2 separate regions of the Homo sapiens genome follow, and region 2 is linked to region 1. The links are contacts of gene promoters, found by promoter capture Hi-C in blood cells and fetal thymus (Javierre and others, 2016). All regions are on one chromosome and are shown on one strand. The core of a region is centred on a gene start or on the middle of the fragment in contact, and the rest is flanking DNA. Distances in the headings are between cores, read along the strand shown. Region 1 holds the start of MTCL2 (microtubule crosslinking factor 2). Region 2 overlaps AAR2 (AAR2 splicing factor).

Evidence for each region. The method cuts DNA at HindIII sites, captures the fragments that hold promoters and counts their contacts. A CHiCAGO score of 5 or more calls a contact.
Region 2: a fragment that was not itself captured here is called in contact with the fragment with the promoter of MTCL2 in region 1 in 1 of 17 cell types (naive B cells); the score reaches 6.5 in naive B cells.

The regions. Positions count from the first base shown.
Region 1 is chr20:36,861,062-36,867,917 of GRCh38, reverse strand. It overlaps MTCL2 (microtubule crosslinking factor 2), which reads left to right and starts at 4,380. Exons shown (of 15, transcript NM_080627.4): 1 at 4,380-5,260. The coding sequence starts at 4,574. RefSeq lists silencers at 760-829, 3,671-4,560, 4,631-4,780. The HindIII fragment of the contact is 4,947 bases long and covers 576-5,522 here.
Region 2 is chr20:36,240,524-36,247,379 of GRCh38, reverse strand. AAR2 (AAR2 splicing factor) reads right to left here. Exons shown (of 4, transcript NM_001271874.2): 2 at 6,755-6,856; 3 at 2,454-2,683. Among named protein-coding and RNA genes, the nearest start is that of AAR2, 7.5 kb to the right of the region's middle. The HindIII fragment of the contact is 1,143 bases long and covers 1,930-3,072 here.

The DNA.
Region 1 (6,856 bases), core at 3,131-5,630:
CGCCACTGCACTCCAGCCTGGGCGACAGCTCTGTCTCAAAAAAAAAAAAAAAAAAAAAAAAAGAATAACTCAGTTTAAAGGCTGCCTCCTTGGCTGGGTGCAGTGGCTCACACCTGTAATCCCAGCTCTTTGGGAGGCCAAGGTGGGCAGATCACAAGGTCAGGATATCGAGACCATCCTGGCCAGCATGGTGAAACCCCCGTCTCTACTAAAAATACAAAAATTAGCTGGGCATGGTGGCGCATGCCTGTAATCCCAATTACTTGGGAGGCTGAGGCAGGAGAATCGCTTGAACCCAGGAGGCAGAGGTTGGAGTGAGCCAAGATTGCACCACTGCACTCCAGCCTGGCAACAAAGCTAGGCTCCATCTCAAACAAAAAACAAAAAACAAAAACAAAAACAAAAAAGGCTGCCTTCTCTGAGAGGCCTTCCTGACTCCCCTATTTAATGAGGTTTCCCGACCGATTCCTCTAATTTTCCCATAGCCAGTTGCTTGTTTTTTAATCTGTATAATGAAAAAACAAAACAAAACAACTTTAGTTTAAAAGGAAAAAACACACCTCCTCTTGGAAGCTTTCCAGGAGTGAGTCTCCATTCAGTTTTCATCACGTTGGTCAATTTAGCAGCTTGAATGGGAGAAATGAAACCGTTTTTCTACTTGGGTAATCAGCATCTTCACTTCCTATGTTATATAATTCTTACAAGGTAATGCTTCAGTCTCTTTTGAGTAGCGCTTTCTGCAGCACACACTGTGTGTCTGTGCTGGGCACTTCGCAGCCCAATAGGGTACCACAACAGGCCCTGGAATTGGGCAGCTCTGGGTTCAAGTCAATCCCAGCCCTGCCACATCCAAGCTGTGTGACCTTGGTCACACATTCCAGCTACCCAGTGTTATGTAACAAATGACCCCAAAACTTAGTGGCCGAAAACAACAATACTTATTTTGCAGTTTGGGCAGGGTTGGTGAGACAGCTCATTTCTGCTCCACTTGTCCACTGGGGCAGCTCCAAGTCTGGGGGCTGAATCATCTGCAGGCTCACTCTCTCACATGTCTGGTGGTTAGTGGGGACCAGAGCTGGAGTTGTTGGCTAGATCACCTTCATGCGGTCTCCCCATGAGGCCTGGGCTTCCTCCTATCATGGTGGGTGAGTGGCCAGAGAGACAGAGAGAGAGAAAGAGAGAGAGAAGCAAGCTGGGTGGAATCCATGTTGCTTTTTATGACCTAACCTTGGAAGTCACAGATGAACACTTCTGCCATACTCTGTTGGTTGAGACAGTCACAAGATCTGCTGAGATTCAAGGTGGGGGCACACAGTGCCCCCACACACGTGCCGCACACATGTGCCGCTCAATTGGAGGAGCATCAGTGTCACATTGTAAGAAGAGCAATTGGGATGAGATATACCCTTTGGAAAATATTAATCAGTCACAAGAAGTATCTTCACCTTTTGGAGATCCTTTACTGAAATGTGGAGCACAGAGCCCGGCACACAGGAAGAGGCCACGCATCACACAGCTGCAGGATGTGCCGGCGCAAGGACGGTCACCCCGTCTACAATGTAGCCAGTTCTGGACTCTCAACAAGTCTTATCTCCTTTGTGGTATCCCTGGTCTGAACTGACCCTGAGTCCACAGCCCCTACGTCAGCCCCACCTAGTCCCTCCCCACCAGAGCCCTGTTGTTCTCAAGGCTTCCCTGGGTCTACAATGTAGATTCTTGACTCCCCAAATCCAAAGCACCTCAGAGCAGGTGGGACCCACAGGCCCCTCCCTGGCCAGCCATGAGTGTTGGGCCCAGAGAGGATAGGTGGTAGAGCCAGGACTCAGATCCCTGCCCTAGAAGAGAGATGCAGGCCACTCTAATCTCAGGACCACTGATGTGACCAAGGGTGTGTCAGGAGTGGCTGAGCCAGCCTGGTCTGCTATGTCCCTGCATTCACACCACCCAACACCTCCAAACCTATGTTCTGCACAGGGGCAGAAACTGAAGCACAGAGAGAGGACACACTTTCCAAGAGCTTCACAGCATCTTTCTGTGCCAGACTAGATGCAGCCTACTAGAGCCAGGGGCATCTGAGCTGGATGGACCCTGTCATCTGTTACATTAGACCAGAGCAGGTGGGGACTCTGAGGCCCGGAATGTGGGAAGGCCTGCCCTGGGTCACTAGCCTGCGGCTCCCACATCCTTCTCCAGCACTCCTGCCCACATGCCATGCCACCCTGTTTGTGCTGAGTCTTTTGTGGTCCCCCCCAACACACACTGTGTGCTCCATGAGTTCAGGCACTGACATGCCCACCACTGCGTCCCTCAGTGTACCTGGCGCCTGTGCAAACAGGGTTTGTGGACAGTCAGTGGGCCGTGAGGGGAGCTGGTGTCTTGCTAGGAGGGGGTGGGGATGCCCCTGCGGAAGTGTTTGCCAAGAGCCTGCTGAGTGCCTGCTCCTCACTTGGCCGTATGGAGGGCACCTAGCGTTGGGGTGGAGGAGCACTCACTCACCTGGATCCAGATGAAGTCATGCCTCTGGAGAGAGGGGATGCCCCAGGAGTGTATTCACAGCGTGTGGGGGAGGTGGGACAGAGACAAAGAAGTGGACCTGGTGCCTGCTGTGTCACAGGCAGGTGCAGAGGTGAAGGAAGGGAATTGGGGGAGGAAGAAGAAGGAGAAAATGGGCAGGAGGAAGAAGAGGGGAAAGAGGAGGAAAAGGAAGACTTGGAAAAGGAGGGGGGAAAGGAAGGGGAAAGATGGGAGAAGAAGGAGGAAGAAAGAGCAGGGGATAAATGGGAGGGGGAGGAGAGAACAGGAGGAGAAAGAGGTTGTAAAGGGGCAAAAACAGCCCTGCCCTTCTGGTGGCAAGGGGTGTGGGGCACCCTAAGGACGAGGGTACATCTGTGGGGCAAAGCACTCAATCCAGCTCTGCCCTGCGGTGGCTCAGGGATGGGGGCGTAGCGGCCAGGCGGTGTGGGGGCTGGGGAAGGTGTGAGAGACATGGGAAAATCAACACGGCCAGGAGCCAAGGAGACGCCCAGACGCCCGGGAGGAAAGAAAACACGCCCATCAGAGCTCAAGTCCTCCTGCACTGCTCCTGGTGGGGACGTGTGGGGTCAGGGCAACCGTCCCAGCCCATGCCAGCCCCCACGGGGGCCAAAACCGCCTTCCAAAGCATCCGCTAGGCTGACATCTCGTAATAGGTCCCCTCCATTTTATTTTTGTTTTTATTTATTTGTTTATTTTTTTGAGATGGAGTCTAGCTCTGCCACCCAGACTGGAGTGCAGTGGCGCGACCTCGGCTCACTGCAACCTCCGCCTCCCGGGTTCAAGCGATTCTCCTGCCTCAGCCTCCCGAGTAGCTGGGATTACAGGCACGCGCTACCACGCCCGGCTAATTTGTGTATTTTTAGTAGAGACGGGGTTTCATCATGTTGGTCAGGCTGGTCTCGAACTCCTGACCTCGTGATCCACCCGCCTCGGCCTCCCAAAGTGCTGGGATTACAGGCATGAGCCACCGCGCCTAGCTACGGGTCGCTTCCATTTTAGCCGTACAGAGCCTGAAACCCGGGTCGGGGGCGCATGGGGAGAAATATCCGCCGGTCAAGGTGCGCGAGCCAGGCATGCACACAGGGCTTCACGGTCCCTATGCCAGGAGAGGGAAGCCGAGGCAGGGGGAGCCCGAGCGCGCCCGGGAGGTGTGAGCTTTGGGTCCCATCGGCGCCGCCTAGACCGTGAGCTTGGCGCGTGCACCCCAGGCTTCAGTTTACGCATCTGTGCGATGGGATCGCGGCTCCGGCGATGCCGGCTAAGGGGGCGGAGTTCGCGCACGCTCGGCACGGGGCGAGGGGCGAGGCGCTGGGCGTGCATGGATGCGGGTTCCTGCGAACTGAGGTCCGCCCGGCCTCGGCCCGGGAGTCCCGGCTCCCGCCGCTCTCGCAGGCCCTGCCCGGACGCCGGGCGCAGGGGCGCCTCCGCCGGGTGCCTTCCCCGAGCGGGCAGGGGAGGAGGCGGCGGAGCGGAGGAGGAGGGAGCCCGGGCCGCGGCTGCCCGCGCCAGCCTGACCCTCGAAGGGGTCGCTGTTGCCTCGCAGATCCCTCCCTCGCTCCCTGCCTGCGTCCCTCCCTGCCGCTCCCGCCGCGTCCGCCTTTTGTTCGCGGAACCGCGCGCCCCCGAGCCGAGGCGGCGGGGCGGGGAGCTGGCGGGGCTGCGCGGGGGGCGGGCTGCGCCGGGCGGAGCCGGGGCCCGGGCCGCAGCCGGACTCGGAGCCCGAGGGAGCGATCGGCGTGCGGGCGGCGGGGGCCCGGGCGCGCTCCGGGGGCGCGGCGAGGCCGAGGGGGCGGGCGCCGGGCGGAGCCGCAGCCGGAGCCGGGGCGCCTGGAGGCGGTCGGGCCGCACTCTCCGAGCCCAGAGCAGCGGAGAGACCGCGCGGCGGGGCTTGGGACGGGGACGCGGTGTCGGGGCCGAGGTGGGCCGAGAGCAGCCGCAGCCCCAGCGGCCGGAGCCGCGCCGGGTCCCTCCCCAGGGACGTCGAGGCCGGGCGGGCCTGGGCCATGCGCGCAGCTCGCTGAGGCCGAGGGAGGCCGCGATGGAGGCGCCGGCGGCCGAGCCCCCGGTCCGGGGCTGCGGTCCCCAGCCCGCGCCTGCACCCGCGCCTGCCCCGGAGAGGAAAAAGAGCCACCGCGCGCCGTCGCCGGCCCGGCCCAAAGACGTGGCCGGCTGGTCGCTGGCTAAGGGCCGCCGCGGCCCAGGCCCGGGCTCAGCAGTCGCCTGCAGCGCCGCGTTCTCCTCACGGCCGGACAAGAAGGGGCGCGCAGTGGCTCCCGGGGCGCGCGGTGCGGGTGTGCGGGTGGCCGGGGTCCGCACCGGGGTCCGTGCCAAGGGCCGTCCGCGCTCGGGTGCGGGGCCGCGACCGCCACCGCCGCCCCCCAGCCTCACGGATAGCAGCTCGGAGGTGTCGGACTGCGCGTCGGAGGAGGCGCGCCTGCTGGGCCTGGAGCTGGCGCTGAGCAGCGACGCCGAGTCCGCGGCCGGGGGCCCGGCGGGGGTCCGTACGGGGCAGCCGGCCCAGCCCGCGCCCTCCGCGCAGCAGCCCCCGCGGCCGCCCGCCTCCCCGGACGAGCCGTCGGTGGCCGCGTCGTCGGTGGGCAGCAGCCGCTTGCCGCTCAGCGCCTCGCTTGCCTTCTCCGACCTCACCGAGGAGATGCTGGACTGCGGGCCCAGCGGCTTGGTGCGGGAGCTGGAGGAGCTGCGCTCGGAGAACGACTATCTCAAGGTGGGGGCGCCCGGGTAGAAAGGGAGGTCGCAGGGGTCGCCGGCTGTCACAGTCCCGCGGGCCTGAGGCACCAGCCGGCCCTCCTTCCCACTGAACAATCCGGAGAAAGGGGCCCAAGCCCTCTGGGGACCACTCTGAGGTGGATCTGGGGCTCCCTCATTCCCCCCGCCCCCTCTCAACTTTATTTGGGAAGCGCGCTCCTGAAAAAGACCTTGGAACTGGCTACAGGGCCCTAACCTGGGAGCGGGGACTTGAGAAAGCTTTGGAGCGTTCTGGGAGGCGTTGCTGAGGTGGGGGTGGGTAGCCAGGGAAGGGATGGATCTCTGCCTTCAGCTGCCCAGAACCTCCACGCCCAGGCTCTCCTTCTTGGGACGGGATTGATAGACACCGCCGCCAGGGAAACCTGTGGCCATCCCCTGCCCAGGAAAGGCCTGAATGCCATCCTGAGTCGTTACCCAGGGCTTTCCCGGGCGCAGGCCTGTCTCTGCCTGCCTTTCTGGGCGGGTCCAGTTTGAAAGCATGACATCTGGGAACATCCCCTTGGCTGGAGTCCACTTCCGCCCAGCCTAACGGTCCCACAGCCTGGAGGATGATGTCGTGGGAGAACCGGTTCAGAGGCAGCTTCCTAAATCCCAGGACAGTGTCTTTTGCCCTCCCTGGGGCAGACCTTGTGCACACAACAGCCCCATTGGCCCCTCGTGGCCAGTGCCTTTCCATGTTCGCAGTGAGAGGAGGGCAACTGCCCACCTGGAACAGGACTTCCCTGTGGCCATGTGGGGACCCTAGGGCTTCCCCCGGACAGCAGGCTTTGCCTTTGCTTTTTCAGTGGACATGAGCACCTACTGGGTGCCAGCCGGGCTCCATCTGCACGCTTCCAGGTGCCATGGCAGCTTTAGGGACAGCCCAGCTTGCACGTGTTGACCTCTCCCTGGGAGGCTGGAAGCTTCCTGAGCTCTCCTGCCGCTGGCTGGGCACGGTTTTGGAGGAGGCTGAAATGTTGCCGACTCTTGTCAGTGGATGATGGCCTGGCACAACACCCAGAGTGCCCCTGGCTGTGGAGCTCACAGCATGCTGCTGGTTTATGTCTGCCCTCAGCACTTAGGTTTTAACTTTTCCTTGTGGCTCTTCTGACCAAATGGGCTTCTCCCTCATTAGAGTGTTGGTGTCTTGCTCAACTATGTCTCTGTCTCCCCATTTTCCCCGGGATCTGCTCTCCAGCCTGAGTTCTGTAAATGCTTGTAGTATGGAAGGACAAGGTCTGTCTGAATCAAGAGACACCTTTCCCCAAGCCAGGCCTCAGTCTCCTCATCCGTTAAATGGGAGGATGTCTTCCCAAGGGCCGGGTTCGGTGTTGGCAACTGGGAGTTCAGTCGGCTCTTTGAGTCTTCAGAAGCCGGTGGTAAGGAGAGGGCAAGTGGAAGGTGAGGAGGAGGAGGGAGGTGACGAGCCAGGACAAGGGTCTTTTGCTCCTGCCCTCTTGGTGCTCTGAGCTGCTTCCAGTGAGTGCTGCCTGAATTGGCCTTAACCGAAACTCTGAGTTCCTCACCCCTGCCTCCCGGTTCCTGCTACTCACTCTGGTGAAGGGGGATGGGTTGC
Region 2 (6,856 bases), core at 1,252-3,751, 620 kb after region 1:
AAGCAGGATCACAGCTGCATTATGGAGCAGCACCTCAGGTGGCAGTGTGGGAGAGAGATGGGGTAACTGGTAAGCACGGAGGCTGGTAAACTCCGATGCAGTCTAGGTGAGACCAAAAGGCCGGGGCTAGGGAAATGGTACTAGGGCAGGACTGCCTTCTAAAACACTTACTGCTACCTGCTTACTGCTATTTGGTTAGTTAACTTTCTGTTAACTTTCTCAAAATACAAGAGTCTGCTATCTGGAGTTACTTGGCTAGTTAACTTTCTGTTAACTTTCTCAAATTACAAGAGTCAAGACAATGACTCTGTCTTGCTCACAGCTATATTCCCAGTTCTAGAACAGAGTCTTCTATACAGCAGATGCTCAGCAATTACCTGCTAAATCAATGAACAAATCCCTTGAGGGCAGGAACCCTGGCTAACTCACATGTATATATATTCCTCAACACTTTCAGTAGAATGTTATATATGAAGAATGCTCAAAGACATGTGTTTTTTGTTTTGTTTTGTTTTGTTTTGGCACATGCCCTGGATTTTTCCAAATAATGACATCGAATTTTCTTGGTGAAAAGTTCAAAGACTGAATGTTTCCAACCATCAGCTTTGCACAACCCACCTGGGCATCTAGCAATCCAGCTGGGCACTTTCTGCTTTGTAAATCATTGCTGGCAACAAAGCCTGGCAATTATAGAGCTCAGCTGCTGGTTGTGCTAACAATGGTCTGGACAGCCAGCAACACCGTGGCCCTCCTGTGTCTGTGCGACGCATCAACGTGCATCAGGAGGGAAGCAGCCACTGCCAGAGGCAAGTTAGCAGGCTAATGCCTCCTCACACTGCCTCACAACCCATAACCAGTACCTTTGGGGAAAATTTTCCCCACAGAGGAAGGACAAAGGGGTTTAATTTCTCTGTTATATGAAGAACCAGTAAAAGGACAGTTTTATAGCTCTTCTGAGTGGAACAGACCAGGCTCAAATCATGCGCTTGACTGACTCATTGCCATGGTTTACACAGGTCCTTCAACTGCCAGCTTTAAGTCAGATGCCTGCTCACAGGGACTCATCCAACAGTAGGTTGGCTTTAGAAAAGCGTTCTGTACCTCTGAGAAACAGGACCTCGATGAAGTCTTCACTGATGTCAATCAAGAATCCTTTCTGGGGGATTCACACTGTGTTCACTACACAAGGGCATAAGCACAGGCAGGAAACCAAGACTCAGGCCTGGGTACAAATCCTGACCTCCACCTGCCAGCTGTATGACTTCAAGTAAGTGATTTAACCATTCTCAAGTGTTCCCATTTGTAAAATGGGAATAATACCCCCATCTTACAAGGCTCCAAAGGGATTCAATGAGTGAACAGGGTCTCACTCTGTTGCCCAGGCTGGAGTGCAGTGGCACGATCATAATCATTGCTCACTATAGCCTCAAACTCCTGGGCTAAGTGATCCTCCTGTCTCAGCCTCCCAAGTGGCTAGGACTACAGGTGCACATGACCATACCTGGCCAATTTTTTAATTTTTGGAGAGACGGGGTCTCACTATATTGCCCAAGCTGGTCTTTAATTCCTGGGCTCAAGTGATCCTCCTGCCTTCACCTCCCAAAGTGTTGGGATTACAGTCATGAACCACCACGCCCAGCCCCAATATTTAACGAATGCTCGTCCCTTCTGTTACCCCGAGTGGGATTGGAAGGTTGGTGAAAGGCTGCCTTATATGGAGCAGGCCTCATGGGGGTATTACACACAGGGAGAAGAAAGAAGCTCATGGGAGGGAAAGTATGGAAACTGACAGTGGCAGCTTCTGCCTCTTCTATTCTTGAGAAAGTTACACAATGTGAGTGACAGAGGCTGTCCCAAGTACATAAAGGACTAATCTGTTTGCAAAGGGAGGAAATAGCATAGGATGAAGATTGTAAGTTGTTTGAAGCTTCTTTCCTAATTACCACTCATAATGAAAATTTAATTGCCAAGTTAAAAGCAAATTTCACTTTTTCTGTCATAGAATCTCTGCAGAAACTGGCACATTTTGTTTGAACAGGAAATCAAAGTTATTTTAATGCTTAAATGAGATCTAAGGAGCTGCAGATGTTTCACTGGGAATAACAAACTTCAAAATTCTGCTTTACTGGGTTGTAGCAATTCATGGCTACAGGGAGAAAGAAACGCTGTTTTAAGCTGAGTAAACCAAAGCAGTGGGAGGAATTCAAATCCAAGTACCCCAGTGTTAGGCACTCTGGGGACGAGGTGTAGGGAGAGGGTGGTACAGAGAGAAAATTTCTGGCATAGAGGCACTTACAATTGAGTAAGAGAGAGAAAAGCAGGAAATATCCCAAGACTAGGAAACTGAAATTTAAAAATTTTGGGGTCATGGAAGAATAGCGAGAAACAAAACACATACTGTTGCCTCAATTCTGACCCACATGTGCATCAGCTCAGTCAGAAAGACTGCTCACCTGTAAGGTGCTGGTGAGGAAGTTGTCTTGGGAGACAATGTCTACGAAGAAGTCAGCGGGGATCTCACCAAGCTGGTGGTACAGGATGGAGATGAGGTTGATGTAGAGGGTGTGGTGCTTCATCATGGCTGCTTCTGACCGGCACAGGAGGTTCAGGAGCCGCTTCCAATGCTCAAATGCCTCGTACACATTCCCCAGCAGGAAGCACACAAAAGCAAACTGGAGTTCACCTGAAAGGTGCAGAGAGGAGAAGTGATTCTGAGGGAGAGGAGGACCAGCTGACACTCTCCATCACTATTCACAAGGCCATGAATTCCACTGGACCTCAGCAACAGATGAGCTTTTATCCTTGTCACTCCTGCAGAGCCTGGCAGGAGATTTTGCACCTAACAGGTACTCAATAGATGTCTGCTGAACCGCTATGAATTCAAGCCATGGGAAACCAACCTGTGGCTTTGGATTTCTATAAAATCAGACTGCTAGAGAAGAGGTATTCCCAGTATTTGCCTGGCATTTTAAGTTTACAAAATGTGTTCATGGATATTATGCCAAGTGGATTTCAAACCTGGCTGCCCATCAGAATCACTGAGAGTCTGTTAAAAGTAAAGCTACCCAAGCTTCACCCTCAGAGGTTCTGGTGGAGGAGAGATGATGGGGCCTTCGTATCTGTAGCTCTAACAAGCTCCCCAGGTGATTCTAATGTGGATGGTCTGCTCCAGGGTCAGGAAATACTGCACTATACCATGTAACCCTCAGCCCAACTCCACAAGGCGATCAGGAAGATGGTATTTGCCTCATTTCATAGATAAGGTCAAGGGCTTGCCCAAGGCCACACATCTAATGCTTCACAATGTGGGCAACGGAAAGATAAAACAGATTCTCCATTGGGTGGGAACAGTTCTGGAACCTCCCACAAAAGAAAAATTCATGAGTACTTATTCCAGGGTCAGCCTGCCAGGCAGATTATTTTTGTTTGCTTAACCACAGGGCTCTGTGATTTAATCTCTATGAGCAGCTTGGTGGCTAAGAGCATGGGCTCTGGAGCCAAACTGCCTAGCTTCAAATCTTAGCTCTGCCACTTAGCAGCTGTGTGACCTTGGGCAAGTTACTCAATCTATTAAGGCCTCAATTTCCTTATTTGAGGGTTGTAGCAAAGATTACATGAATGGATATAGTACATGTATAGCATTTAGAATAAGACCTGGCACAAAGTAGCACTCAAAAAATATTATGTTCCCAATTTCTATCAGATGCCCATCTCAAACAGAGACCTGATGATCCAGACACCACTGTCCCTGGGCAAGTAACTGGGTCTCTGGTTACCACAGAATACTGCTCCTCATCACAGGCATTCTCTCTACTTCAAAGGTGGCTGGAAATTTAATGAGGTATACATACATGTGGGCCATAAAAAGAAGAGATGTACTCAACACCAAATACCTCTTTAAATGCATGGCGTTTGATCTGTGCCACCTCCAGAGACCTGGAAAAACTAGCTCCCTGTTCCTAAGCATACGGAACTAAGTTTGATTTGTGTGAATAGCTACCTGGTTTAGAAATTTTGGATTTCTGACCAATATTTTCAAATATAGTCAAATTTTCTTTGTATAATATAGGTTAATGATTTGCTTCTTCAGCTGGCTTTACTTGGTTTGTGAAACTAAATATTAGCCTATTATTTGCGTTTAGGACATTTATTAAATTTGTGCATTTCTGACTTTATCTAAAATTAAATTATATTTTTCAAAGAGGTGTGATGTAGATTCAAAATTATCCCTGGACAGGTGCGGTGGCAGGGATAGTCCTAGCCCTTTGAGAGGTCAGTGGAGGAGGATTGCTTGAGTTCAGGAGTTTGAGACAAGCTTGGGCAACACAGGGAGACCCTATCTCAACCAAAAATAATTAGCTGGGCGTGGTGGCACACACCTGAAGTCCCACCTACTTGGGAGGCTGAGGTGGGAGGCTCAGTTGAGCCCAGGAGGTTGAGGCTGCAGTGAGTTGTGATCATGCCACTGTACTCCAGCCCATGTCACAGAGTGAGACCTTGTCTCAAAAAAAAAAAAAAAAAAAAACCAACAAAGTTATTCCTGTAACAGACCTTTTCGCAAGATATATTTTGAAGAATTGAAATGTTTAAGAGGTAGAAAGACAGGATTTCTATTCATTTTTAAGCCAGACTTTTAAAAGTTACTTATTATACGAAAATACTAATGCATTAAGATGTACCTGTTAAAGGCTGGGTGCGGTGGCTCACGCCTGTAATTCCAGCACTTTGGGAGGCTGAGGCAGGTGGATCATGAGGTCAGGAGATCGAGACCATCCTGGCCAACATGGTGAAACCCTGTCTCTACTAAAAATACAAAACAAAATTAGCCGGGCGTGGTGGCGGGCGCCTGTAGTCCCAGCTACTCAGGAGGCTGAGGCAGGAGAATGGCGTGAACCCGGGAGGCGGAGCTTGCAGTGAGCCGAACTCACACCACTGCACTCCAGCCTGGGCGACAGAGCAAGACTCCGTCTCAACAACAACAACAACAACAACAACAACAACAACAACAACAACAAAAGATGTACCTGTTAAAATATAGGTTATATCATTAGCTGAGCCAATGATATAAAAAGTCCTGTCTAGGCACAGTAATCCCAGCACTTTGGGAAGCCGAGGCAGAAGGATCACTTGGGCCCGAGAGGTTGAGGTGGCAGTAAGACATGATTGTGTGACTGACTGTACTCCACCCTGGGCGACACAGCGAAACCCTGTCTCAAAAAAAAAAAAAAAAAAAAAAGAAGTCCTACATTCAAATTTCTCACTGAACTTCCAACAAGAAAATATGCAAATTACCTGGAAAATTTATAAATATATATAAAAATAGCTGTTCAAAATGTGACACATATTTGCTGTCACTAGTATTTAAGAAATAAAGAAATATAAACAAGGTGCCATTTTTCAGCTATCCAATTGGAAGAGGCCTTTGTTAAACTGTCATGCCCAATGCTGTCAAAGGTGATGGGCAACAGGTTCCTACCAGCCAGCAAGGATGCAAAAACCTTCTCCTGGCAACATGCACAGTCTGACCCAGCAATTCTATCCCTAAATGTATGTGTAAGTACACACGAGAATGTTCACTAGATGATATATGTATATATATTTTTGAGACGGCTCTTGTTGCCCAGGCTGGAGTGCAATGGCGAGGTCTTGGTTCACTGCGACCTCTGCCTCCTGGGTTCAAGTGATTCTCCTGCCTCAGCCTCCAGAGTAGCTGGGACTACAGGTGCACACCACCCAGCTAATTTTGTATTTTTAGTACAGATGGGGTTTCACCATGTTGGCCAGGCTGGTCTCGAACTCCTAACCTCAGGTGATCCCCACCGGCCTCAGCCTCCCAAAGTGCTGGGATTACAGGTGTGAGTCACCACACCCGGCCACTTGATGATACAATAGAGAAAACAGGGAGCATCTCAATGGTCCATAACAGAGAACTGGTCCAATAACTATGGAACATGAAACAGCCACTAAAAAAGTGACTGTTAGTGACATGAAAAAACATTTATATTAAGGCAGATTACAAAGTAATAATATACTTCAATCCTGTTTTTATAAAAACTCATATATATACAGACACATATACTGAATTTTTAAGACTGAGAGGAAGTACATAGAAATAAACAGAGAAGACATTGAAATGAAATACATAGAAATACACAGAAAAAAAGGAACGTAAATATACCAAACTGTTTAAATGGTTATTTCTAAGTAGTGAGATTTGAAGTAAATTTTGTTTTTCTTTTATGATTATTATCTATCATTTTTGTAATAAAAGGGAAGGTAACAATAAAAACTGTAATGATTAAAAAAAAAATCACTGTCCTGTTCTAAGCCAGTTGAGAGACCAACATCTTGAGGGTCAGGAGCAAACTGAGCAGGCAGGTGAGAGGCTACAACGAACACAGGTCTGGCCCAGAAACCAAGAGTCCTGGGTTCTCGTCTCAGTTCAGCCACTCAGTGGGCCAAATCTTTTCCTTCTGTAGGACTGGGCTCTATCAGTGGTTCCCAAACAGAAGATTATCTGCACCAGGTTCACCTAGGATGTTTGTTTATTAGACAGATAGAAACTGCGGAAGCCCCACTCCAGATCTCTCAAATCGAAATCTCCAGGGCTAAGGGTAAAGACACACCTGTATCTTCAGCCTCCTAGCCAGGTTTAGTTGCTGCTGGACTAACACAAGATGTACTCCCTATTCCAAAACACCTCTGCTAATATCCTCCCCTTGGCCCACTCCCAAAGAGCCTTGTTCCTTCTCACCAAGCACATCCTGGGGGCTGCTGGGGAACTGCTTGTTGAGCACAGTCTCCAGGGCATAGCTCAGGTCCATGCTGTGCTTGGTTATCTCAGCTGGCGTGGCAC